Linked DNA regions of Homo sapiens: all the other regions are linked to region 1. Evidence: promoter capture Hi-C in 16 types of primary human blood cells and fetal thymus (Javierre and others, 2016). All regions are on one chromosome and are shown on one strand. The core of a region is centred on a gene start or on the middle of the fragment in contact, and the rest is flanking DNA. Distances in the headings are between cores, read along the strand shown. Region 1 holds the start of ZNF878 (zinc finger protein 878). Region 2 holds the start of ZNF44 (zinc finger protein 44). Region 3 has its middle 3.7 kb from the start of ZNF440.

Region 1 (3,684 bases), core at 521-3,020:
TGTAATCTGATACAGGAGAATCGCTTGAACCGGGGAGGCGGAGGTTGCAGTGAGCCGAGATTGCGCCATTGCACTCCAGTCTCGGCAACAAGAGCGAAACTCCGTCTCAAACAAACAAACAAAAAAACCTGTAACTAAATTGTATAATTAATTTAGTTGTACTAATTAGTTGTATTAAATTAATTGTACAATTAATTTAGTTGTACTAATTGTTGCGATAATTAAATTTCTTTGTTTTTTGCCTATATAAGAAGGAGCTTAACTTTTTTTTTTTGAGACAGTCTCATTCTTTCACCATGGCTGGAGTGCAGTGGGGCATTCCACTGTAATCCCAGCACTTTGGGAGGCCGAGGAGGGTGGATCACGAGGTCAGGAGTTCGAGACCAGCCTGGCCAATATCATGAAACCCCGTCTCTACTAAAAATACAAAAATTGGCCGGGCGCAGTGGCTCACGCCTGTAATCCCAGTACCTTGGGAGGCCGAAGTGGGCGGATCACAAAGTCAGGAGGAGTTCAAGACCAGCCTGGCCAATATGGTGAAACCCGTTTCTACTAAAAATACAAAAATTAGCCGGGCGTGGTGGCTGGCGCCTGTAGTCCCAGCTACTCGGGAGGCTGAGGCAAGAGAATCGCTTGAACCCGGGAGGCGGAGGTTGCAGTGAGCCGAGATGGCGCCACAGCACTTCAGCCTGGGGCGACGGAGCGAGACTCCGTCTCAAAAATATAAAAATCTGGTAAAATAAAAACAGGTCTTTTGGGGAAGGGGGCGGGGACTGGGATGGAATAACGTGGCAGATAACAGCCCTCCTTCCTACAGCCTCCAAATTTTAGACAAAGCTTTACACACTCTCAACCAACTGCCACCTACAGAATCCCTCCACCACCTGTGCCTTCTAACCCCGCTTCCATGTGTCCCGCCTTTCGGCCAAAGGAACTTACACCTTCCCGGCACTGATTCATCATTTTCCTGCAATTCCTGTCTCCCTGAAATGAATAAAACCAAACTGTCAGGAGCTGCCTCGGGATTGCTTACTCCAGACTTCGCGGGGTTGTGTTTCCCTCAGCCGAGGTCTCTCCTATTCGGCTCAGAATAAACTTATTCTACACGATTTGGGTTTTTCCGTTACCAAACCACAAGCCAGGACTGGGAGTTTCTCATTCATTAATCGCTGTTTGCTAAAATAAACTCTCATTTTTTAACAGTGCCTCAGTTTAATTTTTAACTGGAAAAAAAAAGGAACTGGGGACCCCACAGCCCACAGCTCCTCCCACACGAACCCCACACCCGAGGCAGGATCCCCCATGACCCTTCCATGGTCACCGCACAATCTGGGGAGACGCGGGGCTGCGGGCGCGGAGCTGCTCAGAGAGGGAGCCGGGGCCGGGGCCGCAGTCGCCGCGCAGGGACCGGACAGGACGCCCGGGGTCCCGGCTGCCGGCCCAGCTCCACCCAGCGGCCGAGGGGACCGAGGGCCGAGCTGCGCTAGGGGGACTGTGTCTGGAGCCCAGAGTCGCTGCAGGGGGGCCCGGGCCCCGCCACAGCGGGTTCCTCTCGGTTCCACCCAGTCCCTCCTTTCGCCTTGGGACTCCCCAGCACCGCATGCTCACCATTTCCTGGCTTCCAGGTATTCTGGCGTCCTCTCTAAAGGTCCCGTGAACAGTGCAGGTCACAGCGCAGTCGACAGAGCAACAGCAGCTACGGCGGAAGTAACTGGTCCCTCTCGGAGCAAGAAAGCCCCAGACCTTAACTAGCGCGAGCAGCCCTAGGAGTGAAGAGAGCGGGAATGCAACCTCCCCTTCCCTGGAGGACAGTGGCAGGGCCCCGCCCTAGCGCCCCTGATTGGATAGGGGTCTAGACTCCGCCCCCTTCCCTGAGTGACAGCAGAAGCCCCGGGTAACTGGGCGCTGCAGAGCCGAAGCGACTGGTTCTGGCCACACTTTCCAAGGTCAGCTCCCTCCCTCCCTCCCACCTTTACTTCGAATATTTGCCTTCGGCCAAACTTGCTCCGAACTGCTAGAAGGGACACTGTTGTCTTCCTCACTCCGTGGGCCGTCCCTGCCCCTTCATCCTACACGGGACACAAGTGTGCAGGGAATTCCAGATTCAGTGTCCACAAAATGTGAAAGACATTAAAATATTTTGCCCCAAGATATTGCCCTGCCAAAATATATTTCTTTGACAGTTTTGAAATGGCTGCTGCTTGGCCAGCAAACAAAAGGTGGCCTTGCAAAACTGTCTTTTGAGGGGGAAATTTACATTTGTAGAGAATCTCCGTTAATGAAGCACTGCCAGCTCCCCCGTTCTTTTCCTTTCCCTGATCTAAAAGCTATTGAGAGTTTGACACCTTTAAAATCTGAAGAGAGGTAGCACATGGTGACTCATGTCTATAATCCCACCACATTGGCAAACTGAGGCGGAAGGATCCCTTGAAGCAAGGAGTTTGAGGCCAACATCATCAACACAGCGAGATCCCTGTCTTTCTTTCTTTTTTTTTTTTTTTTTTAGACAGTCTCGATCTGTCGCCCAGGCTGGAGCACAGTGGCACGAGATCTTGGCTCACTGCAACCTCCGCCTCCCAGGTTCAAGCGATTCTCCTGCCCCAGCCTCCCAAATAGCTGGGATTACAGACATGCGCCACCACGCCCCGCTAATTTTGTATTTTTAGTAGAGACGGGGTTTCTCCATGTTGGTCAGGCTGGTCTCGAACTCACGACCTCAGGTGATCCGCCCGCCTCGGCCTCCTAAAGTGCTGGGATTACAGGCGTGAGCCACCTCGCCCGCCGATCCCTGTCTTTATTATTTAAAATTTTTTTAAATGGCCGGGCGCTGGCCGGGCGCAGTGGCTCACGCCTGTAATCCCAGCACTTTGGGAGACCGAGGTGGGCGGATCACGAGGTCAGGAGATCGAGACCATCCTGGCTAATACGGTGAAACCCCGTCTCTACTAAAAATACAAAAAAAAAATTAGCCGGGCGTGGTGGTGGGCGCCTGTAGTCCCAGCTACTCGGGAGGCTGAGGCAGGAGAATGGCGAGAACACGGGAGGTGGAGCTTGTAGTGAGCAGAGATCGCACCACTGTACTCCAGCCTGGGCCACAGAGCAAGACTGTGTCTCAAAAAAACAAAACAAAACAAAACAAAAAACCAGTGGCCGGGCGCAGTGAGACCAGGTCTCTACCAAAAAGATAAGTAAATAGATTAGGGCCAGGCATGGTGGCTCATGCCTGTAATCCCAGCACTTTGGGAGGCCGAGGTGGGTGGATCACTTGAGGTCAGGAGTTTGAGACCAGCCTGGCCAACTTGACGAAATCCCATCTCTACCAAAAATATAAAAATGAGCTGGGTTTGGTGGCACACACCTGTGATCCCAGCTATTCGGGGGGCTGAAGCAGGACAATTGCTTGAACCCAGAAGACGGAGGTTGTAGTGAGCAGAGATTGCACCATTACACTCGAGCCTAGGTGACAGAGTGAGACCTTGTCTCATAAAAAGGAAAAAAGTCTATTCTCTGGGGGAGACATCATCTACGTAACAGTCCACCTCTAGCCAAGCCTCTTCCTTTCTCAGTCTACTAAGCTGTCTTGCTACTAAACCTAATTTACTGACCTCAGGTCGCTATATAATCTTCTCTGTCTTATAGCTGGGTGTGTCTTCATTCTGAAGGTTCCCATGTATACATGTTAAA
Region 2 (3,711 bases), core at 826-3,325, 240 kb after region 1:
ATGGAAACTAGGCTTGGGGAAAAAAATGTCAATGTCCCAGAGGTTAGGTTTTTTTTTTTTTTTTTTTTTTTTTGAGACAGAGTTTCCCTCTTGTCGCCCAGGCTGGAGTGCAATGGCATGATTGTGATTTCGGCTCACTGCAACCTCCACCTCCCAGGTTCAAGTGATTCTCCTGCCTCAGCCTCCCATGTAGCTGGGATTACAGGCACCTGCCACCATGCCCGGCTAATTTTTGTATTTTCAGTAGAGATGGGGTTTCACCATGTTGGCCAGGGTGGTCTTGAACCCCTGACCTCAGGTGATCCGCCCGCCTCGGCTTCCCAAAGTGCTGGGATTACAGGCGTGAGCCACCGCGCCCAGCCCAGGGGTTAGCTTTTTACAGGAATGATATACCAGAAGATTCCTCCCACCCCAGTGCATCCACCTGATCCTTTGGGAGGCCCCACTCCAACACCTCAGGCTGTCCTCTGGGAAGAGTGACCCAAGGGCCGATATCCACTAGGCCCTCCATGAGATTGGCAGCTTCCAGCATCTTAGGGTAGCCCCAGAAAGTTCCATAACACAGGGCCTGGAAAAGATACAGGGTGGGCTGAGGTCACATCACCCTGTAAAGGACATACTGAGAAGGCATCTGTGCCTAGGGGAGATAAAAGAGGCACAAAGGTTTGGTTTTTTTTACAGCAGTGTCAGGTGGTTATTCTCTTCTTCCTCACATGTGAAATGTTAAGGAAAACAAAATAAATCTGTTTAAAAAGAGCCATACATTGCTATCTGAAAACAAACGACAAAATTCTGTGTCTATTTGAAATATCGTCTTGCTGACAAAGGGTTCATAACGTTACTGGGAATTGAGGAGTGAAGTTAGCATATGGAAGGCTCTGGAAACCAAAAGATTTACTGTTAGCCCCAAGAGGAGTTAGGATGAAGGGACAGGTCTCAAAGACCCTGATGCCAATATCTTTGAAAGCCTCGGAGGAGAAATGGTCGCCCTTGGAAAGAAAGGACTGAAGAGCACAGAGACCACAGCTCCTCCCACACACAAACCCCACACACGAGTCTGGTTTGTGCCTAGTGACCCTCCCACCGTCACCGTGCAGCCTCCTCACCGGGCTCACAGGAACTGCGAGCCAGGCTGGAGGCGAGATTGCAGTTAGATATTAACCAGGTGCCCTCAGCCCCGCTGCTTCACAGGAAGCCGCCTCCCTGAGAGTCAGGTCACAGCAGACGCTGACCGCCGGCTTCCCCATTGGCCTGGGGATAAGATCTCTGAGAGTTGCTCAAGAGTCGTCTAAGTTCTTTCTCAGATCTTGAATTCCAGCGGAAAGGCTGGCGCCAAGCAGGCTGAAGACCCCACAAGGAAGCCCACTCAGCAGCAGAATGCGGTTTCTTCACCTCCAGTCCCAAGATTCACCCCTCACTTCTCCACCAACCAGCGACCCCACATCCCAACCACCCCCGTCCAGACCCCTAAACACCCCATCCTCAAACCTCTCACGGAGGCGGATCTAGGGTGTCCTCTCCTATTAAACCGTTTCTGCTGCAGCCCTCGGCGTCCGGGTGCAGTGACTTGGGCTGCGAACCTGTACTGGTTCCGCCGCACAATCTGGGGAGAAGCGGGGCTGAGGGCGCGGAGCTGCCCAGAGAGGGGCGCCGGGGCCGGGGCCGCAGTCGCAGCTCAGGGACGGGACAGGACGCCCGGGGTCCCGGCTGCCGGCCCAGCCCCACCCTGCGGCCAAACGGACCGAGGACCGAGGTGCGCAGGGGGCGCTCAGGTCCCAGACCCCAAAGACGCTGCGGCGAGGCCCGGGTCCCGCCACAGCCGGTTCCGACTGGTTCCGACCAGCCCTTCGCCCTGCCTCAGGACGCCGGGCCCCGCACACTCACCATTTCCCGGCTGTGCGGTGTCCCGGGTCCTCCCAACTCCCGTAGTCAGGGTAGGTCCCAGCGCGACAAAAGCCACCACAGATGTCCCAGGGCGTCTCTCAGTGACAGAATACGGAACAGAGGTCACCAGGGTGAAGAGGCCACTAGCTCCTGGAACGTCACACCCTCCTCTCTGCCTCGCGCCTGATTGACAATTCTCAGGAACCCGCCCACGACTTTGATTGGGTAGCCCTCCAGGTCCCGCCTCCTGGGCACTGAGTGACAGAAGAAGCGATCTCACAGTGCTGAGTGCAGCCGGATGAACAGGTTCCAGACCCGGCCCCTGGCAGGGCGGGCTTCCTCCCTGCGTTGTGACCCGACCCGTCCCGGGAAACGTTTGCCTTAAAGCGGAATTTCCTACCTGTACGCAGTGGGCCCTTTTTGCTTCTTCCTCCTGAACAATTGTGTGCAAGGAATCCCAGACTCACTGTCCAGTGGAGCCATCCCTTGGCCTCAGAGCAGGAGGGCAGCCGAGGCCACACAGGCCACACTGTAGCAGCGGGGGACAGGGGGTGGGTGGGTGGGGGGGTGGTGCTGATGTCCTCCAGGGACCAGGAATTTGGGATGAGGCTGTCGCCTGCAAGGTCAAGCCTTTCTTCCACTATAAGCGCTGGATGGGTTCTTTCTGCGCGCTACGCAAATAAAGACCACGGTATTGCAGTTAAAAAAAAAGTTTAATAAACACTAGGCCAGCTACGATACGTGAGAGACGGAGTTACTACTCAAATTATTCTCATCCAAGGTCCTCTGGTAGGGGTTTTTCAAGGGCAGTTTGGGAGAAAGGGTGGAGGTAGCTAGGCTTGCTACTGACTGGTTGGGGTGGGGATGAAATCACTGGGGATGGAATCTGTCCTCTTGGCAGTGCGTGGTGGCTCACCGCTGTAATCCCAATACTTTGGGAGGCCTAGGTGGGAGGATCGCTTGAGGCCAGTAGTTCAAGACCAGCCTGGACATAGAGTGAAACTCCGTCTCTATACTATAAGGGAGGAGACCACCCCTCATATTGTCTTATGCCCAATTTCTGCCTCCAAAGAAGAAGTAAAAACTAAAAGGCAGAAATGAAATCCACAGGCAGATAACCCGGCTTGTGCCCTGGGCTGGGTAGTTAAAAATCAACCTCTGACCTAACTGTGTTATCTATGATTCCAGACATTGTATGGAAAAGCACTGTGAAAATCCCTGTCCTGTTCTGTTCAGTTCTGGTTACCGGTGCATGCAGCCCCCAGTCACGTACCCACTGTTTGCTCCATCAATCACGACCCTCTCACGCGGACTCCTAGTTGTAAGCCCTTAAAAGGGACAAGAATTGCTCACTCGGGGAGCTCGGTTTTTGGAGACGTGAGTCCGCCGATGCTCCCAGCCCAGCTGAATAAAGCCCTTTCCTTCCACAACTCGGTGTCTGAGGGGTTCTTGTCTGCGGCTTGTACTGCTACATATTTAAAAAAGAAAAAAAGAGGCCGGGCCCGGTGGCTCACACCTGTAATCCCAGAACTTTGGGAGGCCCAGGCGGGCGGATCACCTGAGGTCGGGAGTTTGAGACCAGCCTGACCAACATGGAGAAAGCTCGTCTCTACTAAAAATACAAAATTAGCTGGGCGTGGTGGCACATGTCTGTAATCCCAGCTACCTGGGAGGCTAAGGCGGGAGAATCACTTGAACCCGGGAGGTGGAGGTTGCGGTGAGCTGAGATCGCGCCAAGCCGAGATCGTGCCTTTGCACTCCAGCCTGGGCAACAAGAGCGAAACTCCGTCTCAAAAAAAAACAAAAAAAAGACAAAAAAAAAAAAAA
Region 3 (3,844 bases), core at 1,207-3,706, 240 kb before region 1:
TTTTAACCCAGGCTGGAGTGCAGTGGTGCAATCATAGCTCATTGCAGCTCTGAGCTCCTGGGCTTAAGTAATCCTCCTGCCTCAGCCTCCTGAGTCGCTGGGACTACAGGTGTGCACCATCATGCCTGGCTAATTTTTTTTTAATTTTTAGTACTGAGGAGGTCTTGTTATGCTCCCCAGGCTAGTCTCCAACTCCTGGGCCAAAGCAATCCTCCTGTCTCAGTCTTCCAAAGTGCTGAGATTATAGGCGTGAGCCACTGTTCCCAGCCACAATTTTTATCTTGACCATAATTTGTCATTCTTTTATAATCCCCGAAGTTAAATCTTGCTGTTATGGTGCTGTGTTGCCCAAAACCACCAGTACTAAAAAAACTGTTGTCAAAGAGGATGTAATAAATTGTAGTAATAAATATGACCACAAGCCATAAATGACTGCAGGACATACCAATAAGAGGGTTCTCTGTAGAATTTCTTACAGGATTTCTGTTTTAGGTGCATTGTTCTCTATTCAAGGAGGTGAGTCATTTTTGTATATTGGATGCTGTCAGGATGTGAACTTAATTGTACCACTGCTAATCATAGTAGTTCTCACCTAGAAGGAGAAAGAATGGATTGGAGGTAAACCTAATTGAAGACAATTGCTGGTCAGTCCATTATGAGAAGAGGGGAACTGGAATTTTTGGTTATTTTTATGATTTGAAATATGTTTTCTTCTATCCCATCTAGGGACGTGGTTACAGAATGCCCTCGTTTTTGTCCTGCTCCATCATGGTCACTGAGGAGCACTGCTTCACACTGCAGGTGTCTGACATGGCTTAAGATTTGGCCTTGTGGTGAGGGGAGGCAGCTCCCAGACTTGTGGACCTGTTTTTGCTTTACTTATTCTCCAAAACCTAAGATATTTCTTAGAGTGTATGAACACTGTTCCACAAAATGCTCCAGTTAAAAATATATAAAATCACTTACTCCTTAGGAAGCTGTATAATACTTTTAAAGAAATTCCTTACTGAGTCAAGTGTGGTCAATATATTTATGTAACTGTCTGAATGCACGCCTAGGAAGGATGAAAGTCAGTATCACTATTCCAACCAAGCCTTTCTTGCTCAGATAATATGCTCTTGATGCACCCCTCTTTTTTCTTTTTGACACAGGGTCTCATTCTATCACCCAGGCTATGTGGAGTGCAGTGGCGTGATCTCGGCTCACTGCAATCTCCACCTCCTGGGCTCAAGCGATCCTCCCACCTTAGCCTCCCAAGTAGCTGGGACCATGCCCAGCTAATTTTTGTATTTTTTTTTTTAGAGACAAGGTTTCACCATGTTGCCCAGGCTGATCTCGAACAGGAGTTCAGCAACCCTTTTATGCCACACTGTAGAGTAATAGGCAACATGGAAAAGTTAGTTTTATATATTATGCAGTGGCATGGACCAATCCAATCACTTTTTTGAAGTGCCAGCCAAACTCTTCTTCAGAGAAGCCTGTTTGAAACCCCCTAGAGTCAAAACCTGGTACCACAGGACAGAGCAGCAATGAGTGACCAACCCCTGACTCTATGTGCAGATGACACATCCATCCCCAGATTAGGTATCAACATAAGTGAAAGGTACTGTCATTGCCTGTCATTTTTTTTTTTTTTGAGATGGAGTCTCACTTTGTCACCCAGGCTGGAGTGCAGTGGCACGATCTTGGCTCACTGCAACCTCTGCCTCCTGGGTTCAAGCTATTGTCCTGCCTCAGCCTCCCAAGTAGCTGGGATTACAGGTGCCCGCCACCACACCCGGCTAATTTTTGTATTTTTAGTAGAGACGGCGTTTCACCATGTTGGCCAGGCTAGTCTTGAACTCCTGACCTTGTGATCCACCTGCCTCGGCCTCCCAAAGTGCTGGGATTACAGGCGTGAGCTACTGCACCCAGCCCATTGCCTATCAGTTTTTATAGAGTGTCGCTTAGATCAAGAAAGAGATGGTAATACAGAGTTAGGTGTGTCTGAAACCAAACACGACCTCATCCTTCTCCCTTGAAGGCCAAATGCACTCTGAGAGTTTGGTTAGAGTACAAACAACGCCACCAACTTCACTCCAGATGTGATTTTCTACAGGAGGCGGGCACTGTGTTGGGATGGCCAGTGAAGGTAAGGAACACTAGAGGTGCAGGTTTAGGTGATGAACAGGACACAGCCTGGACATTATTAGCCTTGACTATGGAGGTGTCTTGATGTTTCTCAAATTGAGACCAGTCTGGCCAACAGGATACTGAACTGGTTTTCGATGGAAAAATTCATCTGTATAGGGATCTATTCGCTTCCTTTAAGTTTCAGTTTCGTTATGTGGCATTTAGCATGAGTGACTCCATTTTGGTCTGATCTGGTTTCTAAGTGCCTAGTGCAGAAGCTCAGTCCAAAACAATGGCCTCCCATAATGTTCATTTTAACATTTTCTTTATACTAATACATTATATCAGGTCACCTCAAATGTCACCTCCACAGAGGGTTCTTCCTCTCACCTCAGTTAGTCCTACTTCTTTCCATTCAGTTTTTTGTTACACTGCACTTTTTAGGATCTGGGAAATCTAATCAAAGTTCACAGGGTTTATTGCTTATTCTTTTTCTTTTTCTTTTTCTTTTTTTGAGACAGAGTCTCTCTTTGTCGCTGCCCAGGCTGGAGTGCAATGGTGTGATCTCGGCTCATTGCAACCTCCACCTTCCAGGTTCAAGCGATTCTCCTGCTTCAGCCTCCTTAGTAGCTGGGATTACAGGCATGCACCACCACACTCAGCTAATTTTTGTATTTTTAGTAGAGATGGGGTTTCACCATGTTGGCTAGGCTGGTCTCGAACTCCCAACCTCAGGTGATCCACTCACCTCAGCCTCCCAAAGTGCTGGGATTACAGGCATGACCACTATGCCCAGCCAGGTTCATTACTTTTTAAAAATCAATCTATGAAAAATTAAATTGGCCAGGCATGGTGCCTCAGAACCTGTAATCCCAGCACTTTAGGAAGCTAAAGTGGGAGGGTCACTTGAGGCCAGGAGTTGGAGAGCAGTCTGGGCAACACAGTGAAACCCCATCTGTACAAAAAATACAAAAATTCGCTGGGCTTGGTGGCGCACACCTGTGGTCCCAGGCTCTACTTGGGAGGCTGAGGTGGGAGAATTGCTTGAGTCCGGAAGATCAAGGCTGCAGTGAGCTCTGTTTGCACCACTGTACTCCAGCCTGGGTGACAGAGGGAGACCTTGTAAAAAAAAAAAAAGAAAGAAAGAAAGAAAGAAAGAAAGAAAGAGAGAGAGAGAGAGGGAGAGAGAGAAAGAAAGAAAGAAAGAAAGAAAGAAAGAAAGAAAGAAAGAAAGAAAGAAAGAAAGAAAGAAAGAAAGAAGAAAAGAAAAGAAAAATCATGTAAATGAAACCAAATTCAGTGATGTTACCTTAACTTTTTTTCTTTTTTCGGGTAGAGACAGGGTCCCACTATGTTGCCCAGGCTGGTCTCAAACTCCTGGCCTCAAGCGATCCTCCTACCTTGGCCTTCCAAAATGCTGGTATTACTGGTGTGAGCCACCACACCTGTCCTACCTTTATTTCTAATAACTGATATGCCTTACATTAAAAAGTCTTTTAGAAAACACCTTTGAGCCATTTTCCAGATAGGGGAAGTCAATGAAGCTCCCTCTTGTGGTGAGGGCGACTTTAACATCCACACATCCTGTCTGGGGGACTGGATTTCTGAGTTGTGCTGAGACTTAAGAGTGGAAAAAAAGTCTACTCTTTTTCCTCTGCTCTCACACAACACGGAATACTTCTGTGACCAAATGCAAATATTTGAGAAGTGTCCCCCACATGCCAAGCAAAGC

Evidence for each region. Contacts are between HindIII fragments. The CHiCAGO score rates a contact against its expected background, and 5 or more counts as called.
Region 2: the fragment with the promoter of ZNF44 here is called in contact with the fragment with the promoter of ZNF878 in region 1 in 1 of 17 cell types (neutrophils); the score reaches 5.2 in neutrophils.
Region 3: a contact is called between a fragment that was not itself captured here and the fragment with the promoter of ZNF878 in region 1, in 1 of 17 cell types (fetal thymus). The highest score is 5.7, in fetal thymus.

Annotation. Positions count from the first base shown.
Region 1 is chr19:12,051,191-12,054,874 of GRCh38, forward strand. ZNF878 (zinc finger protein 878) reads right to left here and starts at 1,771. Exons shown (of 4, transcript NM_001080404.3): 1 at 1,609-1,771. The coding sequence starts at 1,611. RefSeq lists a silencer at 1,367-1,416 and an enhancer at 1,605-2,110. The HindIII fragment of the contact is 8,690 bases long and covers 836-3,684 here.
Region 2 is chr19:12,292,808-12,296,518 of GRCh38, forward strand. It overlaps ZNF44 (zinc finger protein 44), which reads right to left and starts at 2,076. Exons shown (of 4, transcript NM_016264.4): 1 at 1,885-2,076. The coding sequence starts at 1,887. RefSeq lists a silencer at 1,631-1,860 and an enhancer at 2,411-2,460. The HindIII fragment of the contact is 16,141 bases long and covers 1-3,711 here.
Region 3 is chr19:11,808,651-11,812,494 of GRCh38, forward strand. No RefSeq gene overlaps it. Among named protein-coding and RNA genes, the nearest start is that of ZNF440, 3.7 kb to the right of the region's middle. RefSeq lists a silencer at 3,614-3,723. The HindIII fragment of the contact is 8,771 bases long and covers 1-3,844 here.